Regions from separate parts of the Homo sapiens genome. Here region 2 is linked to region 1. The links are contacts of gene promoters, found by promoter capture Hi-C in blood cells and fetal thymus (Javierre and others, 2016). All regions are on one chromosome and are shown on one strand. Each heading gives the region's core, a stretch centred on a gene start or on the middle of the fragment in contact. The rest is flanking DNA. Distances are from core to core; before and after follow the strand shown. Region 1 holds the start of RPE (ribulose-5-phosphate-3-epimerase). Region 2 has its middle 15 kb from the start of PTH2R.

Evidence for each region. Contacts are between HindIII fragments. The CHiCAGO score rates a contact against its expected background, and 5 or more counts as called.
Region 2: a fragment that was not itself captured here is called in contact with the fragment with the promoter of RPE in region 1 in 4 of 17 cell types (M0 macrophages, M2 macrophages, M1 macrophages and 1 more); the score reaches 14.1 in M0 macrophages.

Annotation. Positions count from the first base shown.
Region 1 is chr2:209,999,913-210,006,472 of GRCh38, forward strand. It overlaps RPE (ribulose-5-phosphate-3-epimerase), which reads left to right and starts at 2,726. Exons shown (of 6, transcript NM_199229.3): 1 at 2,726-2,871. The coding sequence starts at 2,750. RefSeq lists enhancers at 2,735-2,784, 2,825-2,994. The HindIII fragment of the contact is 5,690 bases long and covers 1-4,750 here.
Region 2 is chr2:208,388,428-208,394,595 of GRCh38, forward strand. It overlaps a transcript of PTH2R not described here. Among named protein-coding and RNA genes, the nearest start is that of PTH2R, 15 kb to the right of the region's middle. The HindIII fragment of the contact is 1,270 bases long and covers 1,835-3,104 here.

The sequences.
Region 1 (6,560 bases), core at 1,476-3,975:
CAGGAGTGAAGCTGCAAACCTTTGTGGTGAATGTTATAGCTCATAAAGGCAGTGTGGACCCAAAGGTGAGCAGTAGCAAGATTTAGTGCAAAGAGCAAAAGAACAAACATACCACAGCTCAGAAGGGGACCCAAGCCGGTTGCCACTGCTGGCTCAGGCAGCCTTTTCTTCTCTTATCTGGCCCCACCCACACCCTGCTGATTGGTCCATTTTACAGAGAGCCGATTGGTCCGTTTTGACAGGGTGCTGACTGGTGCGTTTACAATCCCTGAGCTAGACACAAAAGTTCTCCTACTAGATTAGCTAGATACAGAGTGTCCATTGGTGTATTTACAAACCCTGAGCTAGACACAGAGTGCTGATTGGTGCATTTACAAACCTTGAGCTAGATACAGAGTGCCAATTGGTGCATTCACAATCCCTTAGCTAGACATAAAGATTCTCCAAGTCCCTGCCAGATTAACTAGATACAGAGTGCCCATTGGTGCATTCACAAACCCTGAGCTAGACACAGGGTGCTGATTGGTGTGTTTACAAACCTTGAGCTAGATACAGAGTGCTGATTGGTGTATTTACAATCCCTCAGCTAGACATAAAGATTCTCCAAGTCCCCACCAGACTCAGGAGCCCAGCTGGCTTCACCCAGTGGATCCCATACTGGGGCGGCAGGTGGAGCTACCTGCCAGTCCCCTACTGTGCGCCGGCACTCCTCAGCCCTTGGGCGGTCGATGGGACTGGGTGCTGTGGAGCAGGGGGCGGCGCTCCTCAGGGACGCTGGGCGCGCAGGAGCCCACGGCATGGAGGGGAGGCTCAGGCATGGTGGGCTGCAGGTCCCGAGCCCTGCCCCGTAGAGGGAGGCAGCTAAGGCCTGGCAAGAAATCCAGCACAGCAGCTGCTGGCCCAGGTGCTAAGCCCCTCACTGCCCGGGGCCAGCAGGCCAGCCGGCCCACCCAAGTGCGGGGCCGCAGAGCCCACGCCCACCTCGAACTCGCGCTGGCCCACAAGTGCCTTGCAGTCCCAGTTCCCGCCTGTGCCTCTCCCTGCATACCTCCCCACAAGCTGAGGGAGCCAGCTCCGGCCTTGGCCAGCCCAGACGGACTCCCACAGTGCAGCGGTGGGCTGAAAGGCTCCTCAAGCGCGGCCAGAGTGGGTGCCAAGGCCAAGAAGGCACCGAGAGTGAGCGAGGGCTGCCAGCACGCTGTCACCTCTCAGTCCAAGTTACCACTTCCGTCTTTTACACAGAGTACAAGTGCTCTATTCTGACCCCTTAAGGATTGCTCTTGCTAAGTCCATTTATCCCCGCCAAGTGGTTTTACTTCTGTCTCTTTTCCTGACCCTAGGCACATTTAGCATCAGGATACTCATCCATTTCTGAACTGTGTGTGAACAGCACACAAACCTATCACAATTTGTGAATGAGCATTGGAGAGGTGTAGGGGCCAAGGGAAAACTTTCCCTTCACCCTCCAAAGGTTTGCTGAAAATCACTGACAGAAAGAAGATTAACAGGAGAAAAGGCATAAAAACTTATTTGATTATAGTTTTACCTGACACAGGAGCCTTCAGAATGAAGACCCAAAGGTACAGGGGTGATTACCCATTTTTATACTTAGGTTCAACAAAGTATAGACAGCCATGTAGAAATACGATTGGACAAAATAGGCGATCTAATGCTAATAGACTGACCTGGCCTTGGCCAGTCTAGTTTAGATTCCTGGCCTCTCTGTGCAGCATTCCCTCCTCCTGGATATGGGATAGAACCTTCTCTAGAAGAGGAGTTTTATAACCTACAGTTGAGATGGGTCAAATAATTTATGGCCAGTTTTTACACAGAAAGGTGGAGGAAAGTTAGAGTAATGCTTTTGGGTTTTGTGTCTGGCTTCAGGGAAAGGGGGTTCCGGTTTCAATGACTCTTCTTAGGGAAGATGGGCTCCAGTTTCTATGACCTGCCTCCTAGAATGAGACTGAGAAGAGAGCAGGGCAGGAAGTCAGAGAAACACTGTTGCGTCTGAGGCCTTCACTTTGGGCTATCATTTTCTGAGCCTCAACAGAGGGAAAAACAAAAAAGGTAAGGAGGAACTGCAAAGGCAGAAAAAGAGGGTAATATAATAATAACTACCATTTTGTACTGAGCACCAGGCATCCTGCTGGGCGCATTACCTGGCTTCACTCATTTAATACAACCCTAAAGCTGGGCACTGTCTTTACAGATGAGAAAACCGAAGTTAAGAAGTGATTTGCCAGGTCACCCAGCTAGTATCTGGCAGAGCCAGGGTTCCTCCAGCTCAAAAGAAGAGCTCTAGGAGAAATACGAGGAAGAAAGGTTTTTAATTGTTGTTTTAAAGGGCCAGCATAGGCGCTGGAGAGGAAAGAAAGGCATATGCAAAGGGTGGAGAAACAAAAAGTGATGTTAAGTCAAGAGCCGAGGAGAGGGAACTGCAGGAGAAGCAAAGTGAAAAAAGGTTAAGAAACGCCTTGAGTACTGCGAGGACGTTAAGATCCAAACAGCACAAGAAGGAAGGTCAAAATCAGGTGTACGAGGCCCGTGTGCCCCGCCCCGCCCCAGGCGGACGGCTGACAGCGCCCCACCCCAGGAGGAGGCGGGACTTCCTCACCGCAGAGTGGCTGCTTCCGGTAGAATCCGGAAGCCTGTACGGAGAAGGGGCGGGGCCAAAACTGCGCGCCCAATCGGGGTGACGCTCTAGCCTTGCCGGGGACTCGTGGGTAACTTGCTTTTGGGAGCCAGCGGTATGGCGTCGGGCTGCAAGATTGGCCCGTCCATCCTCAACAGCGACCTGGCCAATTTAGGGGCCGAGTGCCTCCGGATGCTAGACTCTGGGGCCGATTATCTGCACCTGGACGTAATGGACGGGTAACTCCTCCGGGCTCCGGTCGGGCTTGCCGCGCGGCGGGGCGGATCAGTGCACCTTTATTGACTGCTTGTTGGATGTACCGCGTCCCTGTACCACCGAGCGCCTCACTCTGAACGCGATGCTAGAAGGGGTGTGGGGTAGGAGCCCTGGAGGCTCTAGCAGGAGCAGAACCGACGCGGTATCCTGGGTTGCGGCCGGGTCCCAAACCTCAGTTCCTCCCCTCCCCCCACGTAACGTGTGGTCTTCCATCACTTAGGACCCGGAAGCGACCTAAATCTTTAGGACATTTCTTCACTTTCAGCTAGAGAAACTGAGGCCCAAGGGGAGAAGCATGACTTGCCCAAGCTCATATAGCTAGTTAGTGGCAAAGCTGGGGAAACAGACTTCTCTAACGATTTAAGTTGGCACCTGCGGTTAGGTTCCCGAGTTCTGCCACTTGCTGGGTTACCTTGGACAAGCCACTAACCTCATTGAGCTTCAGTTTCATAATTTGAAAAATGGAACTACTAACAGAACCTACCGCTTAGGCATCTTGGAAGATGAAATGAGCGAGTACATGAGAAGTTTACAGTGCCTGGCGTATATTAAGTTCTCTATAATTGTTAATTACATCATTATTACAATTCTGATTTTCCTGTCTATTTTCTCTTCAGGCACCCTGCTCTTCAGGGAGGTCAGTTTTTTGTAAGTAATTTTTAAGCACCGTAGTTACAGCACATAATATTGTTTGGAGTCAGGATATTAGTTTCTGAAGTTGGTTACAGAATGAGGAAACAACCCCAGAGAAAGCAGTAAGACTCCCTCAAGATTACAGAAGATTGTGACAGACTTGCAACTTGGCTCTTCCTAGGTTTGCCAAGTAGTTCTCTGAGCCCCACTGTTAACTGACTATAAAAATCATAAATACCATTATCTTGAGTGGGGATGGAAAAATAAATTTATTTTAAATAGGTAAAAACCCTGTGTTCCCTCATTCAGTTTGCAAATTGGTGTTATTTTCTAAAGGTGATGATTTCCTTTTCTTTTTAATGTTAATCTGGCTTTGAAGAGTTTTATCTTCCATTGCTCTATGTGGTTAAATGTATTGTTTCTCTTTGGCATTTTACCCAGTTACCTTAGGAGTCCACCCAACTGATAATGACAAAACTTTGACCATAGAGTACTAAAAATAATAGGCCAAATGTGTAAAAAGTTTAGTAAATATTACCTCTCACAAAGGTTGGCTTTTAATTGGCCATTATATGTAATTATACTTATATACTTTATTTTTGACATCTTTGCTTGAAAGCCCTAAACTGTCACAGGTAATAATACCCTGAGTGTCTACCTCAAAGGTAAGTAGCTACATTTTTGTGCCTGAGAAAATACCTAGAGGGTCACAGGATGGAACAGCTATGTGTATATTTGTGAGTCTATTTGAGCAATTTGGTTTTAATTAAACTATGTTTGAGTAAGTTAATGGTTGGGGAAAGTAATTGTTTCGGTTCACCAGTCAGGATTATTAATGATAACCATAGTAGCAATGTTTATGAGCACTTGACTGTTTCTGTTCTGGAGTTTTTTTGTGAATTAACTCAAACAACCGTTTGAAATTGGTGGTGTTATTACCACCAGCATTTGACAGCGAGGAATTGGGCACAGAGAGGTTAAGTCATCTGCCAGTGGTCTCATAACTAGGAAATGGTGGAGCCAGGGTTGGAAGCAATGCAACAGCTTGTGTTGTCTCAAATGAAATGCTTTCTGTGGTTCCTAGGCTTACAGGGAATGACTAAGACATTGTTTGGCCTCAAAAAAGCAACTAATAATTTGTGTATTTATTTCTGTTAACTGTATACTTATTTTTGTTAACTTATTTCATGTCTCTCCTGCTACCCTATAAGCTTCCTGAAAGCCAAGTTTATCTTCTTTTTGCTCACCTATATATTCTTTGCTGGAAAAGCACCATAAGGTGCTTAGTTATTGTTGGCCGAATGAATGAATAGCTTAATCATAATAGGAGAAGTCTCTCAGAAGTCACTTTTGTCCCCTTGCAGCTCTATGGCAGACTGAGCTCAGTAAGGCAAAGTATTTACCATGGATCAGAGTTTTGGGAACAAAAAAATAAAAAATGAAGTATTTGTTTTTTATTGATTCCTCTTCCCCTTTGCCAGGAGATACTTTGGTTTGGAAAAACTGAATTCTGCATACACAATTTTAAAATTATTTCCCTTTTAATCTTCTCTACTTTCTGAGTTAAGAGCTGTTTCTATTCCCCTTTTGCAAAGGAGGAAACCAGTGTAGGGAGATTCAGCTTCTTCCCTGATGTCTCACCAGATTCAGCAGAGCCTGGCAGAGTTGGTGCCAGTGCCCCTACGTGATGTGCTGTGGTGTCTACTAGGCTAGGGCTATGAAAGTGGGCTGTGGACTCCTTTTTGAAATGTGGCCAGCCACAATGTCCCTTCCCTCCCAGGACTGCCTTCGTGTTTTTTTTTTCCTGGCCCCTTTTAAAAATCTCATCCAACATTACACTTTGGATGTGCTTATTGTTTTCTAGTCTCCTCCCCACTAAGACCTCCAATTTCTCCCCTGATTACAACTGAATTTCTTCATTTAGAAAGTCAGAAACCAGTCTGGGGAATACTGTGGAAGGTGGAGCACTAGCATGACTGGATATGTGAAACAAAGGACAAGTGGATTCTCTGGGGGAAAAAAACCCTAGAAAACACATAAATGCATCATGACAGGACAGTGACTAGAATGTGTTCATCCTAACCATGGGAACAGAGCAAAGAATTAATTTCTAAATTCGCTACCAGGATTTAAAACTGGGACGATTTCACATTAATACTGCATTTCTGACTTTTGGGGGAAAAAAAAAAACAGTTCAAAGACTTGCTAGCACTGGGCCCTCAGTCTTACCAGGTGACATGCGCTGGAGCTGACAGGGGCAGCCTCACCTTTAGTCATGTGGGGTGTACTTCATTTGGCCCCTTTCCCTATCTGCTCTGTTTTGCTCTTTGATGTTACCTAACTCTCAGCAGCATTGAGTTTGTGATTCCTGATTCACAGGAAGATTGTGTTCTAGTTACAGTCCTGTACCTTTTATAGCAACTCTAATCCTCCTCTTACCATCTTTGCCTTGTTGGGAGATAGGGTAAATGGCTTGATCTGTCTGCAGTAGATTGTGTTAGAATTACGTAAGTAAAGCTTAGGAGTGATGATGGAACATGAGAGAGAAAATTGTATCCTTGTATTACAAAAAATTATAGTGTAATTCCAGTAAGTCCCTGGAAGAAAGGGATACCTTTTTATTTTATTTTATTTCTTTCACACTTAACTAACTCCAGGAAATAACTTAAAGGAAAAAGAGGCAGAATAAGATAATGATGAAGCAGACTTTTTAGTGAAGTTTCTCTCTGTTAAGTGAAATAATTAAGTGTTTTCCAAGCTGGTCTGTTAACTCCCTCTGGCATTTGTTCAAAATTCAGATTCCCGGTCCTCTTTGGAGTCAGTAGGCTGAGGTAGAGACTGTAAATACATTAGAACTGCTCTCATGGTTACTGTTTGGCAAATTTGGGACACCCTGACTTCGTGCTTAGGATTGTAGCCCCTTTTTGTTATGGCTTAGCGTAGCCTTTGGGTTTTTTTTTGAGACTACTGATGCATTCTTGTTCTTCCAATATACTTCGTGAACCTAGTGCATTGAATT
Region 2 (6,168 bases), core at 1,220-3,719, 1.6 Mb before region 1:
TCCACACTATCCTTCAACACTACAATGACATCTTTTTCTTCTGTCATGTTCATACCTGTGTCCCATTCCATCATACCTGTGTGAGAATAACCTATTAGGTAATATTTATCTCCCTATCCTTATACTCTGTGTTGGTAAAGAGATATTGTAACCCCTGAAGCCTTCTATCTTTGCATAAAATATGTCTTTATGAGTTGTGTGGTTTGAAACACAGTGTAATAGTGATTACTCTAGAATAGACATGTTGAGATAAGAATCACTGTAAGGTTGAGTGGAACTGGGGAAATAAATACAACTTTAGAAAGAAAACTGTCAAAGACTATGGCCAAACTACTAGGATATGAGACATGCAAATTCACTGCCCATATCCTTGAACTTCTGCTTCTCCTGATGTTTGATTATAATTCTATCCCTAGGAAGTTTAAAGGCTATTTTTAGCTAGCGCTTACAGCAGGGGAGAGAATACTAATCCAGGGTCTGGCACTCAGTAAGCACTTATGGATGTAAGCAGCAAATATCCTGTAGCAGGACTCATCGAAGCATAGCACATACGTAGAAAACAATGTAACCTTAGCATCAGCATCAGTGCCCCTTCTTATTATCAAGAGATTCTAATTAGAAATAAGAGGGTGTTCATATTGTGAAGATGTTTTCATTATATCTGAATTTAAGCATCAGAGAGTATTACACAGTCAAGCTACAGGAAAAAACTAAGTTTCTAACAACATATTTTCCATTACTCTGAACATTAGGAATATGCCATATTTTACAGAATGATGATACATTAAAAGGAAATGCATACACACACACACACACACACACACACACACACACACACACAATCTATTGAGGAAAACTTTCCAGATTGTCTATACTCCTTGGTGCAGCTCTATGGCTTTATATATCATTTCATTAAAATTTTTCCTTCTTATTAGTCTTAGCTCGTCACAATTGTTATGCTTAATTAACTCGATCAATTGTGGATTACTGCCAGTTATATTTGCAGACACCATAGCAGCTTATTAACTCATAAACACCAAAAGATAACAGAAGCACTGGAGGACAAATCATTAAATGAATCTTTTAATTTCTAGCCTATAAATGGAAGTTAGCGCACGTTAGTTTGCCAGTTGTTTTCAATGGGTAGACACTGGAATAGTACCTTCCCTATGTCTAGGCTATGTATGACCCATGAGGGGAAGTAATGAATCATGATCAAGCTGATACTTTCATTACCTTTAACATAGTGTGCCAAACATTGATGTTTTATCACACATTTGTGATGTTTTCTCACAAATGTTTAATTTTTATCACAAATTAATGAGCAAAAACTAAAGATCTTTGAAGATAGATTTCTTTTCCGCTTTTTCTTTTTTTGCGGGGGTGGGGGGGTTGTTTGTTTTCTAAACTACTGTTTTACTACAACCTAGACAAACATCTGGCACATAGTAGGTGTTTAATGGATGTTTGTTGGAAAGTAAGCTGCTACTATTAGCAAACGTTATAGAAGGGTCTCGAGTTCCATGAGGGAGCATGTTTGGAGAGGCCCATGTGTGATTTTTTACATTATAGTCAAGATGGTTATTTAGAGCATGCCACTCCCATTGGGACTTCCAACCAGGAGAGGCGATTCTGAAAGCCCCCCACTAGAGCTTCTGATCCTTTTAGATGACCCTTGTTGCACCCTTCTCCTCAAATTTTTGAACTGTCAGCAATTACAAGTGTGATGTTACAATATCTGAGATCTCCCAAGTGTGGTCCTTTCCCGCTACTTTTAAAGCAGAGGGAGACATTTGCTATTACTTGGTCAATTTTTCCCAGCCTGAGGGTGTGAAGCTTATGTTTGGAGAGAGTGTTCTTTGCCACTGGGGGTGGAATGTTCTCCTGAGAGGAGTTAGTCACCCAGTTGAAAGTGCTCCCATACCATGTCCCATTTATGCCTGATATGTCTTGAAAGGTTAAAGGTAAAGCCAATAAAGGGAACCCCAAGACGATGAGTTCCGGGTCACTGTAAGATTCCTCAGTGTCGTTGAATTGAGTGAACTACTTAGGACAGACCCAACAATTAGTCTTGTACAAATGGGCCATGGTGGATATTGTAGGAGCTAAAGGGTGTGATGTATTACTAAGTCCGATAAAAAGTCCTAATAGACTTAGTGATAGTAAAACACTCATGTTTATTTTCTGTTAGTAACCATTATTCCTGCTATCAGGATAATAATTAAGCAAAATGCTACAGTAATTGAGATTCTCTGTCTGATTTTCCACCCTGAGGGTGCTACAGTATATAGTTCTATTGCAAATAGTAGAGTGAGTATAACAATTTCTGCAAGGGTGGCATAGTAAATAATTTCCATCAAAAAGAAGTTTTAATATTTGGCTCAAAGGGAGAGGTAGAAATGACAAAAAGTATTTGATGAGGTAGGGGTGAGACTGAGTACGATGAGTAGTTCTTACTCAGTTACTTATCTTTTGTGATTTTCAGCTTAAGATCTATTTTTTCACAGATATTCAGGTCATTCCTTTGGGCTTTGGTCCCTTAGCTCTCCAAGGCTTTGACTCGAGTGTGATGTATCCAGAATTTGATTCCTATGACTTTTATTCCTGAGGGAGTTGAAAGAAGAACGGTGTAAGGCCCTTCCCAGCTTGGGCTTAGGGAGGGAGGCAGGGAAAGCAGAGCCTTCACCTGTACCAAATCTCCTGGGTTAAATAGAGTGGTCCAATTTCCTGGGGTTGGGCTTTCATGAATTGTGCTAATTGGAAGTGAGCCAGAGAAGTTACATGCTTAACTAGCTTAGACGTTTCTCGATTTAATAGAAAATCATTGGTAAGGAAAGGCCATCCATACAGCATCTTAAAAGGGCTAAGACCTAATTTTGAAGGTGTATTTTTTATTTCTAGTAAGGCCATAGGAAGAAAAGTGACCCAAGGAAGGTGAGTTTCTTGGGATAATTTTCTGAGGTGTCTCTTGATAGATAACCCACTGGCTGTTGAGCTGGTCCTTGGGCCTGTGTTAAAACTTCCAGGGCCATCCCCTTTCTTTCTGATACATACAGATTGAAGGACTCCCCTACAGGAAGGCTGAGAGCTGCTGCTTTGAGCAAAGCTTGCTTTAGCTTGTCAAAGGCCTTTTGAACTTCAGGTTTCCAGGTTAAAAGATGAGTTTTAGCTCCCTGAGTTTTTTTATGACGTTATGTAATGGATGGGCTATTTCACCATATCCAGGTATCCACAGTTTACAAAATCCTGTAATGCCCCCAAATACTCTTAGTTGCTTGAGAGTTTTGGGGAGGGAGAAGGTGGAGATAGGCTTAATCCGCTCTTTCCCTAATGCTCTGGTCCCCTCAGACAACACTAAGCCTAGGTACTTCACTAAGGTTCTGCAGAGCTGGGCCTTGGGTTTTGAAACCTTATATCCTCTGCTAGATAAGAAGTTGAGAAGAGCTTCAGTACCTTCCTGAGAAGCTTCCTCAGTTGGGGCACAGAGCAGTATATAATCCACATACTGCAAGACCCTAACTTGAGTATGAGAGAACTCAGAGAGGTCTGGTGACAGTGCCTGTCCAAACAGACGAAGACTATCTCAAAATCCCTAAGGGAAAACCATCCATGTTAACTGGGTGGTCTGGCCGGAGGGATCTTCAAATGCAAACAGGTATTGAGAGTCGGGATGTAACAGTATGCAGAAAAAGACATCTTTCAAATCTAGGACTGCAAACCATTTAGTTCCCTCAGGTATTTGAGTTAACAGGATATAGGGATTAGGGACCACTGGATGGATTGGAACTACAGCTTTATTAATGAGGTGAAGGTCCTGAACTATTCTTCATTCCCCATTGGGTTTCTGCACTCCTAATATTGGGGTGTTGCAGGGGCTATTACAGGGTTTGAGGAGGCCTCTAATCTTTAGGTTATTAATAATGGCTTCTAGCCCTTTCCTAGCCTCTGGCCTTAAGGGATACTCTCTCTGGTTAGGAAAAGAAGTGGGATCCTTAAGATAGATTTGGATGGGCCTAGCAGTTATAGCTCAACCTATTCTTCCTTGAGTTGCTCACACTTCTGGATTAATGTTAACTTCCATCAGGGGGAGACAAAGAGTTTGTCCTGGGGCTATAAGGATACTGGCTCCCATGCGAGCTAGAATATCTCTACCTAATAAAGGAGTGGGACTTTTAGGCCTGATTAGAAAGGCATATGTAAATAGTAAGCCCCCAACCTGCAGCTACGGGTTAAAGGTAAATATCAGGTTAGAGTTTTTCCTGAGACGCCTCTTACAGTCATACTAAAGGAAGAGGGAAGGCCTGGATTACAGAGGAGAAGAGAGACTGGCTCCAGTACCCAGAAGATCTACCTTCCTTCCTTCAATTTTCAGAATCACCCGGGGCTCTTGTGCTGTAATGGCAGACTGAGCCGCTGGAATGGGGGTTTGAGCCCCGGGACCTGTCAATCCTGCTGGACCATCTCTGAGACTGGTTCTGAACCCAGTGACCTCTGCCTCCAGGGAAAGACCTGTCTTCAGCAGTTTCCACCACAGGCTGGACAGGGTCAAGGAAGGTTCGTATTGCTGTCTGGGCATTCCTTCTTAAAATGCCCTGGCTGGCCACATTGATAACACCTAGTGGATGCACCTTGGGGATTCTGGACTTTACAAGCTTGCAACGCTGCTACTAGAGCCTCTGTTCTCTTGTATTTCCTCTCCTTTTCTCAGGCCTCCTCCTGATCCCTATTGTAAAAGACTAAAGTGGCTATTCTCAGGAGGTTTTCTAGGGTGCTCTCTGGTCCTACAACTTGCTTCTGTAGCTTCCTTCTAATGTGGGGAGATGCCTGTGTGATAAACTTGTCCTTCAGGATGAGCTGTCCCTCAACTGAATCAGGGGATAAAGAGGTGTGTTTTATTAGTGCCTTTTTCAGCCTTTCCATAAAGGCTGTGGAATTCTCATCTCATCTTTGGTCTAGCATGGACAGTTTAGAGTAATTGAAAGGGTTGGCCCTGGTCTTCCATAGGCCTTCTATATTAGAAAAAGGGCTTCCTTTTCCATTCATCTCCTGAGTTATTGGGATTCCAATCAGGGTTGTCTACTGGAACTGCTTCCCTTCCTAGTGGAATGGAGTTTCCACCTCTTCCTCACCTTCCCTCTCTCCTCTTTTTCTCCTGGGTCTGCTATAGGAGACATGTTGCTCATCTCCGTATTTTTCTGCTGCCTGCAGAACTGTCTGCTTTTCAGCTGCAGTGAGGGTCTGACTTAGCAGCAACATAACATCCCTCCGTGTGAGATCAAACACCTGAGTTAAATTTTGGAAAATTTCTATATACCTACAGGGGTCATCAGAAAATTGGCCTAAGTCTCCCTTTATTTGCTTAAGATCCTGTAATGAGAAGGGAACTTGAACCCTTATGGCACCACTCCCATCAGGCATTTCCTGCAGAGGTAAGAGTGAAGGGGGGAGAGTAGGATATACTGGAGCTGGTAGAGCTGGAGGAGTGGATGGTATGATTGGAAGGGGACTGGAAGGGTTGGGACATTCAATAGCTGTCTCGGATTACTCCTCTGGAACCTGCTTTAGCTCTGGGGAACTATTCCCTGTGGGCTTGCCTGTTGTGGCTGCTAAAAGAACTGGGTTGATTGTACAGAACTTGTAAAGGTCTGAGTTGTCTTGAGGGGCAAAGAAAGCCTGTACATAGGCAGCCTCAGTCCATTTGCCCTTCTGTTTGCAGAAAAGTTTTAACTTTTGGATAATACTAAAATCAAGGCTCCCCACTAGCAGGCCAGGTTTGCCTGTCCCGAAGATAGTAAGAAGGGCATGCCCTTGTGCAATAGAATATGAAGTGCTTTTTCTTCAAAGTCTCAGGGCCGAAGGAGTCCCAGTGCTTTAAAATATACCCCAGGGGGGTGCATGTTGAAGACAATCTGTTACTCATCTAGAAAGAGAAGTGAGAATAAAAGTGTTCTTTTAGTCTGCTTCCTTTCAGTATGTGATCCAGGATAGAGAAGAAAACAGTAGGGGGTGTCCCCCCCACCAATTATTTTCTCTCCCTGGTTCCTGGATCCTGGCACCCATTTGAATGGGACACCCATGACTGCAGGCATGACCCTCTAAGCCATGGCACCAGAGAAACTAGACTTTTGGCCCTAGTCACGCTTCCCTAAGCAGCCTTAGTCCTCTGCC